Linked DNA regions of Homo sapiens: all the other regions are linked to region 3. Evidence: promoter capture Hi-C in 16 types of primary human blood cells and fetal thymus (Javierre and others, 2016). All regions are on one chromosome and are shown on one strand. The core of a region is centred on a gene start or on the middle of the fragment in contact, and the rest is flanking DNA. Distances in the headings are between cores, read along the strand shown.

Region 1 (4,248 bases), core at 340-2,839, 520 kb before region 3:
TTTCTTTCACTAAGGTGCTTTGTAATTTGATCATGAAGATCACACCATATTCCTATGCATCTTCTCACCTTGTGGATTTCCCTTGCTGCTCAATTAAAAGTAGAAAATGCCCCTCCCCCCCCCTTTTTTTTTAAAGACAGTGTCTTGCTCTGCCACCCAGGCTGGAGTGCAGTGGTGTGATCTCTGCTCACTGCAACCTCCGCCTCCTGGGCTCAAGTGATCCTCCCATCTCAGCCTCCTGAGTAGTTGGGACTATAGGTGCGCATGATCACGCCTGGCTAATTTTTATATTTTTTTTGTAGAGATGGGGTTTTGCCATGTTGCCCAGGTTGGTCTCAAACTCCTGTTCTCAAGAGCTCAAGGGATCCACCTGCCTTGGCCTCCCAAAGTGCTGGGATTACAGGCATGAGCCACCATGCCCAGCCTAGAAAATGCTCTTTATCTCTCATATGAGAACTGTCTCTGCTGGAATTTCAAAACAACTTTCTGAAATTTTATGTTATAGGTGTGTGTGTGTGTGTGTGTAGTTCTGTTCTCTTGGATTGAAAGAAGGAAGGGAGTTCTCAGTTTTGGTGTTTCTACAAAGTAATAACAGCATGTTATTTTGATGGCCAGTTTATTTTGACAATGGAGAAAATAGTAAATATGTGGTAGATCTGAAGAGGTCACACTGATTTGACATGAAAAAGCGAAGTTTTACATTTTCTAAGCCTAAAAACAAGAAAGATAATAACAAAATAGTTAATGTAGAAATAAGGTTCTGAAAACTTAAGCTGAAATTTTAGAAACAAGCAGAAAGAACAACGTGATTTGAAATGCTTACTTGGTGCCCTATCGATTAAGAACGAGTATAAGAGGCCCCTTAACTTAGATGGCATTACATCCCAATCAACCCATTGTTAAGTTGATAATATGGAAAGTCGAGAATGCATTTAATGTACCTACTAACCACTGCGGCTTAGCCTAGCCTGCCTTCAGTGTGCTCAGAACACTTACATTAGCCTATGGTTGGGCAGAACACAAGGCCTGTTTTATAATTAAGTGTTGAGTATCTCATGAAATGTATTGAATGCTGCACTAGAAGCAAAAAACAGAATGGTTGTCTGGGTACTCGAAGTACGATTTCTACTGAATGTGTGTCACTTTCACACCACGGTAAAGTCGAAAAATTGTAGGTTGAACCATCAGAAGGTGGAGACCCTCTGTGTAAGGTTCTTGATCTTCATTCAGCATTGACCTTCAGGATGCCTGGCACTGTTCTGAGCACTGGGAATACAGCAGTGAGGAAAACAAAGTCCCTGGACCCATGCACATCTTAGTGGAAGAAACAAAATCGTACATTTGGACTATGTCAGCGGGTAGGAAGACAAGGGACTGGGGGTTGGGGGTGGCTGTATTTTACAGTAGAACGTCTGGGAGCAAGAGGCATGTTTAGGTTTCTTAAAAGGAGATAAAGGTACCTCGATGACTTACAAAGTGAAAAGTCACAGCTATGTTACAAGAGCATATATCCTTTTCAGAAGCTCATAATATTTTGTTGAATAAACACAAGGCTAGCAAAATTCTCACCTAATTTGGCCGAAACAGGAACTCGGTTCTTAAGAGGTACCAGGCGATCCTTACACGTTTTCTCCAGTGGTAATTCACACTTTATGTGACGCCTGAAGTTCTCCCTCAGAATAGAACGAATCACCTTAACAATGTTGGTTTTGCTTTCACTGTCACTGGGTGGGGGGGGAGAGAAAACAGCAGAAGTGTCCACAGTGTTCATCGTGCTTCCATTCCACGCCCGCCTGTGTTCCTGTGCCTTGCACCTGCTGGACCAGGCTGCCAGCCAGCCACCCAGCAGCAGTGCCATGTGGCCTCCCGTACAGAAGGAGGTGAGAATTGATCACTCTTAAGATTTTGATATTTATTTAATCAACATAGTCTCCTACTAGCGGCCTCAGTTGCCTTTTTCGGAGGGTGGGGAGTATGACCCTGATATCATCAAAATTCAGGAGGGCACTAAATATAAATTCCCTTAAGAGACATAATTCTATGTTATTTCTGTTGGTTTTAATCTTTGGAAGTCAGTCATACCTGCAACACAACTGAAAGATGGTTTCTGGCCGTCCTTCTATTTCTGACTTCGTATGGATCAGTTCCCATATGGAATTATTTTCTGTCCCTATGTAAAAGGAAATGGAAACAAGAGTCTACAACTTTGCCCAAAATGCTGTGGTTAAGAACACTTGTAAAGTTGAAATCTCATCAGTTAAGAAAGTCTAATATTCCCAGTCCTGGCTCATTTTCTTCTGTGGCTTGTTCTATGTATGATTTTCACAGTTACAAGAACTGAAATGCCTTTTGGTTACTTTTTACATTTCCTGCTGCAGATTTTCCTCCATCTGAACTGCCTTCACCCTCTCTCTGGAGCCCCTCTCTGGGGAAGAGGAGATTCAGTGGATCCTATTCTTCAACCTCCTTTGCAGTTTTGCCCTTTCCTTGGAAGGAACAGGAGCTGGGGTACTTGAGGTAAAAGAGGCCTGCCCCAAATGTGGTCATTTTCTCGAAAACATAAGCACTTCTGACAAAAGTTAAACAGAAGCCCAGCAGGTCACTGCATGACTCAGCCTGCTGGCCTCTTCTGTCACCAGATACCTGTCACCAAAACAAGGTTACTCTGGAAGGATCTCTGAACATTTTCCAGAGTCAAAGATTTTTTTCTTTTTATATCACCTACAGTACTACCTAACCTTAAGGAATTTTCTGCTATATTCTAAATTTGTAAAAACATAAATTTGTGGATCTTTGTTCTTCTAACACATTTTAGGGTATCAAGGCAGAAAGGAAAATGTTGAAAACTATTGATAGGGAAAATAAGGAAACAATGAAAGGCATTTGGCAAAGAAAAAGCTATCCACCAGCATTTAGTTTCTCCCAGAAGTCTGCTAAGGAACATCAAAACAACCTCTCTTGTCCTCATTTTCCTTGTCTATAAAATAAAAGGCACCAAAAATTATCCCCAAGGTCCTTTCTTAATTTACATTCCACAGTTAAGTCTACTAAAATGCTTTTTCTGGCATCATACTGCACGAAACAGTTACCTGCTGGATTCCCCAGTCTGACTTGAAGCGCGGAGATGGGGATCAACCAGCGGAATTTAAATGGGTCCAAGTCAGTAGAGTTGTGTGCAGGCCGGGAATTCGAGGGCTGTAACATGAAGGCCCACCAAGAAAAGTGTTAGGGAAGCTGTCACTGAGGGAGGATGTGTGCACAGTGAATAGAAGTTTATGTTCTCCCTGTGGGCGAGTCTCCGAGCAGCCATGTGGGTGTTCAGGGCACAGAAGTCAATCAGCTACGCACCCAGTTCTCAAAGACCTCACATGCTAGGGAAGGTGCGGAGGCAGAGTTGTGGTTCAGAAGCAGTTACAGGTCTCAAAGCAAGAACAGCAGCCAAAGCTTCCACGCCCTGACGCTGCCTCTGAATGGTAAACCAATGGCATATGGTATCCACAGCTAGGCTTTGCTTTTTTCTGAGTGAAGGTAAAAGGCATTTGAAAATAAACCAAAGTTTCACAGACTATGTTTATGGAACAAACATGGGCCATTTTCAGGGATATAAAAGTCGATGTTCTATGTAGGCCCCCATATGAGTATTTATCTACTTTATTTACTTATTTATGTATTTATTGACAGGGTCTCACTCTGTCGCACAGGCTGGAATGCAGTGGCATGATCAAGGCTCACTGCAGCTTCCACCTCCTGGGCTCAATTGATCCTCCTGCCTCAGCCTCCCGAGTAGCTGGGACTACAGGCACGTGCTACCACACCCAGTTACTTGTATTTTTGGTAGAGGCAGGGTTTCACCATGTTGGCCAGGCTGGTCTCAAATTCCTGGGCTCAAGCCTCAGCCTCCCAAAGTGCTGAGATTACAGGCATGAGCCACCGTGCCCAGCTGTATATCTTCTTTTAAAACAGACATCTTTCATGGGGAGACTCAGAAACGCTCTCAGTATGTGATGGGGTTAGTTACCCTCAGAGTAAGCAGTATCAGTCAGCCCAGCCTTGGTGCTCAGTGGGCTTTTCAGTTCAACGTTAATAGGAAGATACAGCTATGAAAAGGTAGCTTAAATTAAAATGAATTTTTGCCTTACCAATTTCTTTTTCAGTTTGCAGTTTTCTTTATAAACCAGTATGACGGCTCTCTTAAAAACTAAAGAAAGGAAAAGAGAAAGAAAGTCTTTATTTTATGCAAACTCTTCC
Region 2 (4,034 bases), core at 966-3,465, 530 kb after region 3:
AGCTTCCAGTGAATTCTCATTGCTTCTTAAATTAACTCCTGAGTCTTTGGCTTGGTATTTTAGGCCCTTGGCCTGTCTTCAGGCTGCCATTGCAGTCTTGCTGCCAATTTTGCCCTTATCGTCAGCCCAACAAACGGCCTGCTGTTCCCCAAAAGCGTTCCAGACATTCCTGCCCTCGTACCTGTAGGTATAAAGTTTCTCCACTTGCAGGACCACTTGCCCCTGACTCCCACCCCAATCCCACCTTCTAAGTATCTTTCAAAATGGTAGCTTCAGATGTAGATTCCTTCATGAGAACATCTCTAGTCCTCTAGGTCAGGGTAATTCTTCCCTCTTCTGAACTCTCTGTATTCCCATAGTGTTTCTTTTTTTGATGATTTTTTTCATGTTGTTATCACAATCTGCTTTTGATTAGAGATTTTGTGTATCTGGTTTATTTCTCTAATTATTAAATTCTTAAAGTCAGAGCCAGTGCCCAATATCTTTTCATTTACCCACATCATTTATGACTGTGCCTAGCACACATTTGAAACTAAATAAACATTTAATGGACAGATGGATGGGTGAGTGATTATTGTGACTTCATCCACAACCCCCGCAAATTTCTTGTTCCACAAATATTTCCCCATGTGAATGAGAAATATACTACTTTCCACTTGTCTAGTGCTTTTGCATGGCTTTGAGAAGAATGATTTCATTTGACTCTCACAGAAATCTTGTATGAGTTTTACAAATGAGGAAGCCAGGTTCCAGAGAAATACACATAGCTATCGGAAGTAGCATTTGCAAGCTGCTTATGTTTCATGAAGAATATTCTTTATGGGATATCACTTGCCCCTCTTGATAAATTTGAGTTAGTCAGGCAGCTGATAAATATTTTTGTGTATTTACCATGTGCTAGGGACTGTTACCAATATGGGGGTGCCATGAAGAGCTTTTGAGAATAAAGTCTCCTGGCATCTCTTGATAGCCAAGGTAATCCTTTGGCAAAAGCCTCAGATGTAAGCCATTAGTTTCAGGCCTAGCAGCAGCTGGGGAAGGCTGCAGCATAGCCAGGTAAAGGGGATCTGGGTGAGTTTCCGAAGGGTCTGCTATTGTAATCCTAGTTGGAGGAACACAAGCAGAAGCATGGAGATACAAAACTTTATGATGTGTTAGAAAGGAAGGAATAATCAAATATGATAGCATTTGATTTTAAGTGGCAGCCTGGGGTAAACAAAAATGGAAAATGTGCACCTTGTCCTAATTGCAGTTTATTCATTGTCCTCTGAAATATTTCTACAATACACAGCCGCTCAAATTCAGCAGCATATACACTAACTAGTTAGGTAACTAATTAAATAATAATACATAATAAATTAATGTGTTTCTTTGTGTGTGTATGTTTTTATTTTGAAACAGAGTCTTACTCTTGTTGCCCAGGCTAGAGTGCAGTGGTGTGATTTCGGCTCACTGCAACTTCCGCCTCCTGGGTTCAAGTGATTCTCCTGCCTCAGCCTCCCAAGTAGCTGGGATTACAGGCTTGCACCACCACGCCCAGCTAATTTTTGTATTTTTAGTAGAGACAGGGTTTCACCATATTGACCAGGCTGGTCTTGAACTCCTGACCTCAAGTGATCCACCTGTTTTGGCCTCCCAAAGTGCTGAGATTACAGGCATGAGCCTCCACATCTAGCCAATGTTTTAATAAAGCTGTTTTTATTAAAAAAAAATACAGGGATGCTGAATGGAACTAGATGGTGTCTTCTCCCTTGAGCATCTTGAGTTCTGTGTTGAGGAAGAGGGACAATGCAGTAATAATTCAAACAAATTACTTCAAGGACTGACAAATGCTCTGAAGATGAAGTAGGGCAATGGGCTAGGGAGTGGCCAGGGGTTGGGAGTGGAGAGGATACTGCTCTGTCTGCTCTGTCATGGAAGACCCTGTGGAAGAAGTGATATTTCAGTGGAGGTCCAAGCAATGGGAAGGAGGCCGTCCACCCAACATCCACAGGGAAGCCTTTCTGGCAGAAGGGACCAGAGATGTGGTGATGGGACAGAAAGAAGGCCAGTGTGGCTAGAAAGGAGTGGAGAAGGAGGGAGGAGATGCAGGTGGAGGAGTCCTTAGGGGTTCATGTGGACCTTCTAAGCTCTAATGAATACTATGGATATTTTTCTACTTAAGATGGGCAGTTATAAGAGGGTTTTCTGCAGAGGAATATTGTGGACTTTTTGTGTGTGTTAGAAATACTCTATCTGTGGTTTGGAGGATGGACTGGGGTGGGATGGGGGGCACTGATAAGGCAGGAAGCCACTAGAATGGTACTTGCAGGTAAAATGACTTCTTCAAGGTCACATGGATACTAAGGATCACAGTGATGAGTAGATCTTCGGTCAGCACATTGCCCAAGGTCATGCAGAAGGTCAGTGACAGAGAAGGAGTGTACTATTACAAGGTCTTCTGGTATTTAGGGTGATGCTTCTCCTGGCATATAGGAGAAATACAAACATGATACTTCCTGGGGCTTAACAACAATTGACTGGTTTATTTTTTGTTTTTGCTAATATGGCCAATACAAGGAAAGGGAAGCTGTGTACTTTTCTTCCTTTCTTGTCATTTTGGTTTTGTTTTGTTTTGTTTAGACTTTTTTGTTTCCATGTACTTTGACTCCTTAAGATTTCTATGCTGACTCACTTCTGCCTAATTACAGGGTTTGGGTGGCCATTTTAAACTATTTTTTCACCATGTCAAACTTGTGTTTGAAAAACAATTCCAAGAAAAGGATTTTAGGGCTAACATTTGAATGATGCTTCTTCAAGAATTAAAACTATCCTATACAGAAAATAGGAAAAATCAGTATTAATCTTTAATGTAATCATATCATAGTCTCTTAACTAGAACGAAGATTTTTGAAATGTCTTTAACTTCCTCATTTAAATATAAAATACTTAATACCTAAGTGTTCTGAAAGGAATGAAACCACATACAATTATTAATCACTAACTAAATAAAATAATACTTTTATCTGAGGTTATGAGAACATTTTGTCAGGCTATTTGCATTGTAATTGGCACCGATAGCCCCTTGATCCTGGGATTCGGATAAATCACTCAGCAACTTTATGGAGGATTTCAGGGAGCTCCTCCCCCAGAGGCTGAATAACTCTGGGGCGCTTTTCTTCACAAAGCTGGTTCTGGCCAATTCTTTGTCATTAATTTGTCACCAATTATGTGTCAAACAAGAGGCAAAAAATGGAGGTGAAAAATGATTAAAACCAGCCTGTTCTCAGGTAGCTCATCAAAAAGATGAAGAGTCAATCAGTAGTTGCAATCCAGTCATCCCTTGGTATCTGTGGGGGTTTAGTTCCAGGAACCCCATGGAGACCAAAGTCTGTGCATACTCAAGTCCCACAGTGGGTCCTGCAGAACCCACCTACACGAAAAGTCGGCTCCCTGTATCCTTGAGTTTCTCATCCTGCATCCCACAAACGCTGTCTTCATCCCCATTTAGTCATGGATTTGGAATCCATGGATACAGAAGGCTGACTGTATTTATTGGAAAATATCTGTGTTTAAGTGGACCTGTGCAGTTTGAATCCCTACTGTTCAAGGGACAACTGTGTAAGTTGATACACAAAATGACATTCCACCTATTATGATAGAAATAACCGCAGAAGCACCAGGCAAAGCACCTACCTGGCCCCGAGACTATCAGAGAAGGCTTCCTGGAGGAGTTGGTGTTTGAACAGACACACGAAGGTTGGGCTCATATTTACCAGTAGAGGTGGGGCGGAGAGGAGAGACTAGCACTGCCTTCTGCTTTCATTTGATCTTCAGTGGGGAGCTTTATGAGTATGTTGCACAGATGGTTCACAGAAGGCAGTGAGCTAAGAGTTCTATGCTTGATGTTGGCTATTGGTTTCTCCAGAATGTTAGAAATAATGAGCCATGCCTTAGCACTACACGGTCTATAAAGCGTGTTTTCATACTGAATCCTTGGAAATTAAACTCCAGGTTCACTTTCATTTGTATTTGTATTTTATCAATCTCTTTTC
Region 3 (4,249 bases), core at 942-3,441:
GGGAGGTGGAGGCTACAGTGAGCTGAGATGGTGACACTCCAGCCTGGGTAACAAGAGCGAAACTCTGTCTCAAAAAAAAAAAAAAAAGAAGATTCCCAAGTCTATTGCTCTAATTTATCAATGTTAAAAATAAAAAATGTAGTATTAAAAAAGAAAATGCTTTCCAAAAAAAGTTATGTATCACTGCTATTGAAAATAGCCCAAATATTATCTACCGTTTAGCCTCTTAGCTAAGATTCCCAAATACTGTTTTTCTTTTTAAAGAAATTAAAACAAGATAAAACTATGCAACGGCATTTAAAAGTACTGTCCTATTTGGGCCGTCACAGCAAAAAGCCTCGTATTTTAAGAGGTAAATATTAAAGATACTCTTTAACAATCATAGTATCGAATAAAGTATTGGCACTTTAAGAGTTCATAAAATTTATGCTAATTTAGTTACCAGCATAATTACACTTTTTCTTTTTCTTTTTTTTTTTTTTGTAGACAGAGTCTCACTCTGTCACTGGGCTGGATTGCAGTGGCGCAGATCTCGGCTCACTGCAACCTCCGCTTCCCAGGTTCAAGCGATTCTCCTGCCTCAGCCTCCTAAGTAGCTGGGATTACAGGTGCCTGCCACTACGCCCAGCTAATTTTTTGTATTTTTAGTAGAGACAGGGTTTCACCACGTTGGCCAGGCTGGTCTTGAACTCCTGACCTCGTGATTGGCCCGCCTCGGCCTCCCAAAGTGCTGGGATTACAGGCCTGAGCCACTGTTCCCGGCCATAATTACACTTTCCAAGGCGTACGGGTAGGGATACTAATGCTGACTGTGCAGATGTGTACTTGCTATGTTTGATGTTTACATTAAGGCCTATTGAAGTCGGAGTTTAAAAAGAAATTGAATACATCAAAACCTGTCTTCTTCCAGACTAGTAAATTCAACTACACAGTGAAAATGGAATCTGCTTTTTAAAATCTTGTTTGACACGTGAATGAACCAGCGAGAAATGTTTCCCCCATAATCTTCCATCTCTCGATGCACAGATCTCTCCCTACCATTTGTCTTTATGTCGTGATGGATTAGAAGAGGAGCGAGTAAAAATAAAAGATATTGCAGAATAACCTTTGCCTGCCTACCAACCATCCAATTAGCTCAAGTCCCTAGCTGGCAAATTACCTAGTCAACAATGCCTCAATTATAAACACTACGTGTAACGTGACCACAGATCAACACCCCGTAGGTTCATTTCCCCCACCGCCCCCAATCGGTGTTAGCCTCAGTGAGGACCCGGGAAGGTCTGGAGAGTCATGTCCAGCGTCCACTTAAATCCTCAAAGGCCCAGGAAGGAGGTGGGCGGGCCAGGCCTCGGCGGAACTGACCTCGAGGGACCTGTCGGGAGTCTCCGGGTGAGGGCCCAACCGGGTCTTTCCCTCCGAGCTCGCAGCCATTCCATAGGACGCCGGAGACGCCAGAACCTCCCTCCGCCCCAGGGCGGCCCTCCCCCAACCCTCCTCCCGGACCCGGGGGAGGGGCACCCAGAGGAGAAACACCCCTCCCCCACGGGCACTGCTAGGCCACCGCTCACCCCACCCTTAAAAAACCCGCAGGCCCGCGCCCACCCTCCGGGCCCCGGCCTCGACCAGGGGTGGGGGCGGTGCGGGCAGGAGCAGGGGAACCCGGCTGCCATACCAACCTCGCTATTGAAGGTCTTCACGGCCTCCATGTTGTCGCTGCGGAGGCCCCGAGCCCGGCGGCGGAAGAGGCGGCGGCCACTGCACTGGGTGGGGAGAGCGAGACGCGGGCTGCTGCGTGGCCGCGAGGAGGGGGCGCTGGCGGGAGAGCGGGCCGCTGCGACCTCGGGGCGGAGTGGAAGGGCACGCGCTGGCGGGGAAGGGCTCCCTCAGCGGCAGAGCGGCACCGGCATGGCCGCTAGGGCGGGGGGAGCGCCGTTCTAGGGAACAGAGGCGCTGCCGGGGCGGGTCGGCGGCGGGCGGGGGAGGGGCTGGGCCGCGGCGCCTTCTCTTCTCTGCCCCGCTCCGTTTCGGTCCCCCTCCCTCTAGCCCCTTCCCCTACACTCTCCACTCCCTTCTGCCCCTTCCTCCGACGGGCTCCTGTTTCACCTCCCCGCCGCTCGGGCCGCAGGAACCAGCCCCGCTCGGCGAAGACAGAGGAGGAAGCGCTGGCAGCAGCGGCTGCGGCATCCAATATGGCGGACTCGAGTCGGGCCGCGCAGTTCGGGGATCCGCGGCGCCGGCTAGCGCGCCCCCTGGCGACTGGACCGTGCGAGCCCCGGCGGCCGCGCGGAAACCATCGAGCGCGCTGGGGCCAGAGCGTCGCCGCCCGTAGGCCCGGCTGGGCTCCGCTGCCCTCGCCTTGGCTCCGGGGCCGCCCGCGCCTCGCCCCCTCCCCGCGCCCCGCGGACGCGGGAGTGAGCGCTGCGGCATCCGGGGGAACGCCGCGGCGGGTTTGTACAGCAGGAGGAGGCAACTCCAAAGCGCGGCTCTAATAAGAGCCTAAACGTGCCCAAGAAGCGGCAAGTTGAGGAAATGTGCGCGTTTCCCTTGTTTCCCGGTGGATTGGTCCTTTTGCACAAGCGGCAGGGTTTAGTTGCTTTTCACAACTTTACTGGACAGTGCCCTAAACATCCGCAGCCTTCGCCAAGAAAAAGTTCCTGGTCATCTATTTAGTAACTGAACTCAATTGTTTTAACTGCACAGGGAGGGAACATTAGAAACCAAAGCCTTGGATTCGGGTTGGGGCAGGCGGCGAGGGAAACAGGCATGCAGCAGCTCCTTGCAGGAAATGCCCGCTGCATAGGATCCAGGGACTGGAGTGGCACAATGAGCGCATTTGTCTGCAAGGCGGGAAGGGGACCCTAGAATGCACAACACTTGAATAGGTGAAAAGGGAACCCGTCTGTTTCGGAAGATGAATTGTTCTAAAGGAATTTTGCCCTAGGATACTTGGAGTAAAGGTAAATACAGTATTTCTTAGATGGATTAGGAGATGCTGCTAGTAAAAAGCCTTCTCTCTCGTGCAGCGCAAAATAAGGTACCAATTTAAAAATACTTATCGATGTTAAAAGATAGGGATGTATCGTGGAACCCCGAACACTGCTGTCCTCTTGTTGAAAGTCATTTTTCAACAATCATTCCCAAATTCACTCAAAGGGAGAGAGGAACATAAGGGCAGGATCGTACTTTTGGAGAGTTTTGGAATCAAGGTAGTTCCTAAGAGCTGTGCGCAGAGCCCCGTGAAACTGGGAAAGTAAGGCCCTTCTTGAGGTTTCAGAGCCTTCATTCTACTTCATTGGCAGCTTTAGTATAGGGCCTGGCTACTGAGAAGGTAACAGGGATAACTCACCAAGTGCTTTTATATTTACTTTCAAAATCTCAAATTCTGTCACAGATTTCTCCACCGTCTCCCATCTTCAGGCCTAGCCATGATCTTTTACTGACACTTGCAGTAGCCTCCTAACTGGTCCCTTGCTTGTCTTCCTACAGTTCATTTCCAGACAGTAGCCGAGGGATGTTTTTCTTAGATAAATCAGATCAGGTCACTCCCTTACTTAAATCCCTTAAATACTTTCTCATTGCCCATTTGATACCATCATAACTTCTCACCATGGCCTGAAGGCCCAGCCCAGCCTGCCGCAGCTCACACCACCTTCCCTTGCTCCCTGACTCTCCTCCTGCCACACTGGCCTTTCTGTTACTTGACAAGAAGCAGTGTTTTCATAGGTAGGACAATTGTGTCTCTTCACACAGGGTGCTGTTGCTCTTGTCCTTTCCATAGCTGACTCCTCCTCCTTCAATCTTCCTGAAAGAGGTCCCCTAATCACTCCATCTAAAGGAGCATTTACTGTGGCTTGAGAAAGTACTGCACTCAGTTCTGTGCATGCCAGGTTCTCACAATCAGAAGTCACTGCTTTGAGGCCGGGTGTGGTGGCTCTCGCCTGTAATCCGAGCACTTTGGGAGACCGAGGCGGGTGGATCACCTGAGGTTAGGAGTTCGAGACCAGCCTGGCCAACATGGTGAAATCCCGTCTGTACTAAAAATACAAAAAAAGTAGCCAGGCGTGGTGGCACGCCCTTGTAGTCCCAGCTACTCGGGAGGCCGAGGCAGGAGATTCGCTTGAACCCGGGAGGCGGAGGTTGCAGCGTGCCGAGATCGCGTGACTGCACTCCAGCCGGGGCAACAAGAGTGAAGCTCTGTCTCAAAAAGAGAAACAAAAAAGAAAAGAACGGAAAAAAAAGGCGCTGCTTT

The links. Contacts are between HindIII fragments. The CHiCAGO score rates a contact against its expected background, and 5 or more counts as called.
Region 1: a fragment that was not itself captured here is called in contact with the fragment with the promoter of SCAF8 in region 3 in 1 of 17 cell types (neutrophils); the score reaches 7.3 in neutrophils.
Region 2: a contact is called between a fragment that was not itself captured here and the fragment with the promoter of SCAF8 in region 3, in 1 of 17 cell types (neutrophils). The highest score is 6.2, in neutrophils.

Annotation. Positions count from the first base shown.
Region 1 is chr6:155,251,895-155,256,142 of GRCh38, reverse strand. It overlaps TIAM2 (TIAM Rac1 associated GEF 2), which reads right to left. Exons shown (of 27, transcript NM_012454.4): 23 at 4,140-4,198; 24 at 3,090-3,195; 25 at 2,083-2,170; 26 at 1,570-1,724. It overlaps TFB1M (transcription factor B1, mitochondrial), which reads left to right. Exons shown (of 7, transcript NM_016020.4): 7 at 1-9. Among named protein-coding and RNA genes, the nearest start is that of CLDN20, 10 kb to the left of the region's middle. RefSeq lists enhancers at 1,212-1,785, 1,786-2,360. The HindIII fragment of the contact is 3,714 bases long and covers 1-3,446 here.
Region 2 is chr6:154,202,956-154,206,989 of GRCh38, reverse strand. All of the region lies in intron 9 of IPCEF1 (interaction protein for cytohesin exchange factors 1), which reads left to right. It also overlaps a transcript of OPRM1 not described here. Among named protein-coding and RNA genes, the nearest start is that of IPCEF1, 150 kb to the left of the region's middle. The HindIII fragment of the contact is 4,421 bases long and covers 5-4,034 here.
Region 3 is chr6:154,731,358-154,735,606 of GRCh38, reverse strand. It overlaps SCAF8 (SR-related CTD associated factor 8), which reads right to left and starts at 2,191. Exons shown (of 20, transcript NM_014892.5): 1 at 1,677-2,191. The coding sequence starts at 1,706. RefSeq lists silencers at 1,419-2,018, 2,169-2,288, 2,319-2,558 and an enhancer at 1,655-2,158. The HindIII fragment of the contact is 14,602 bases long and covers 1-4,249 here.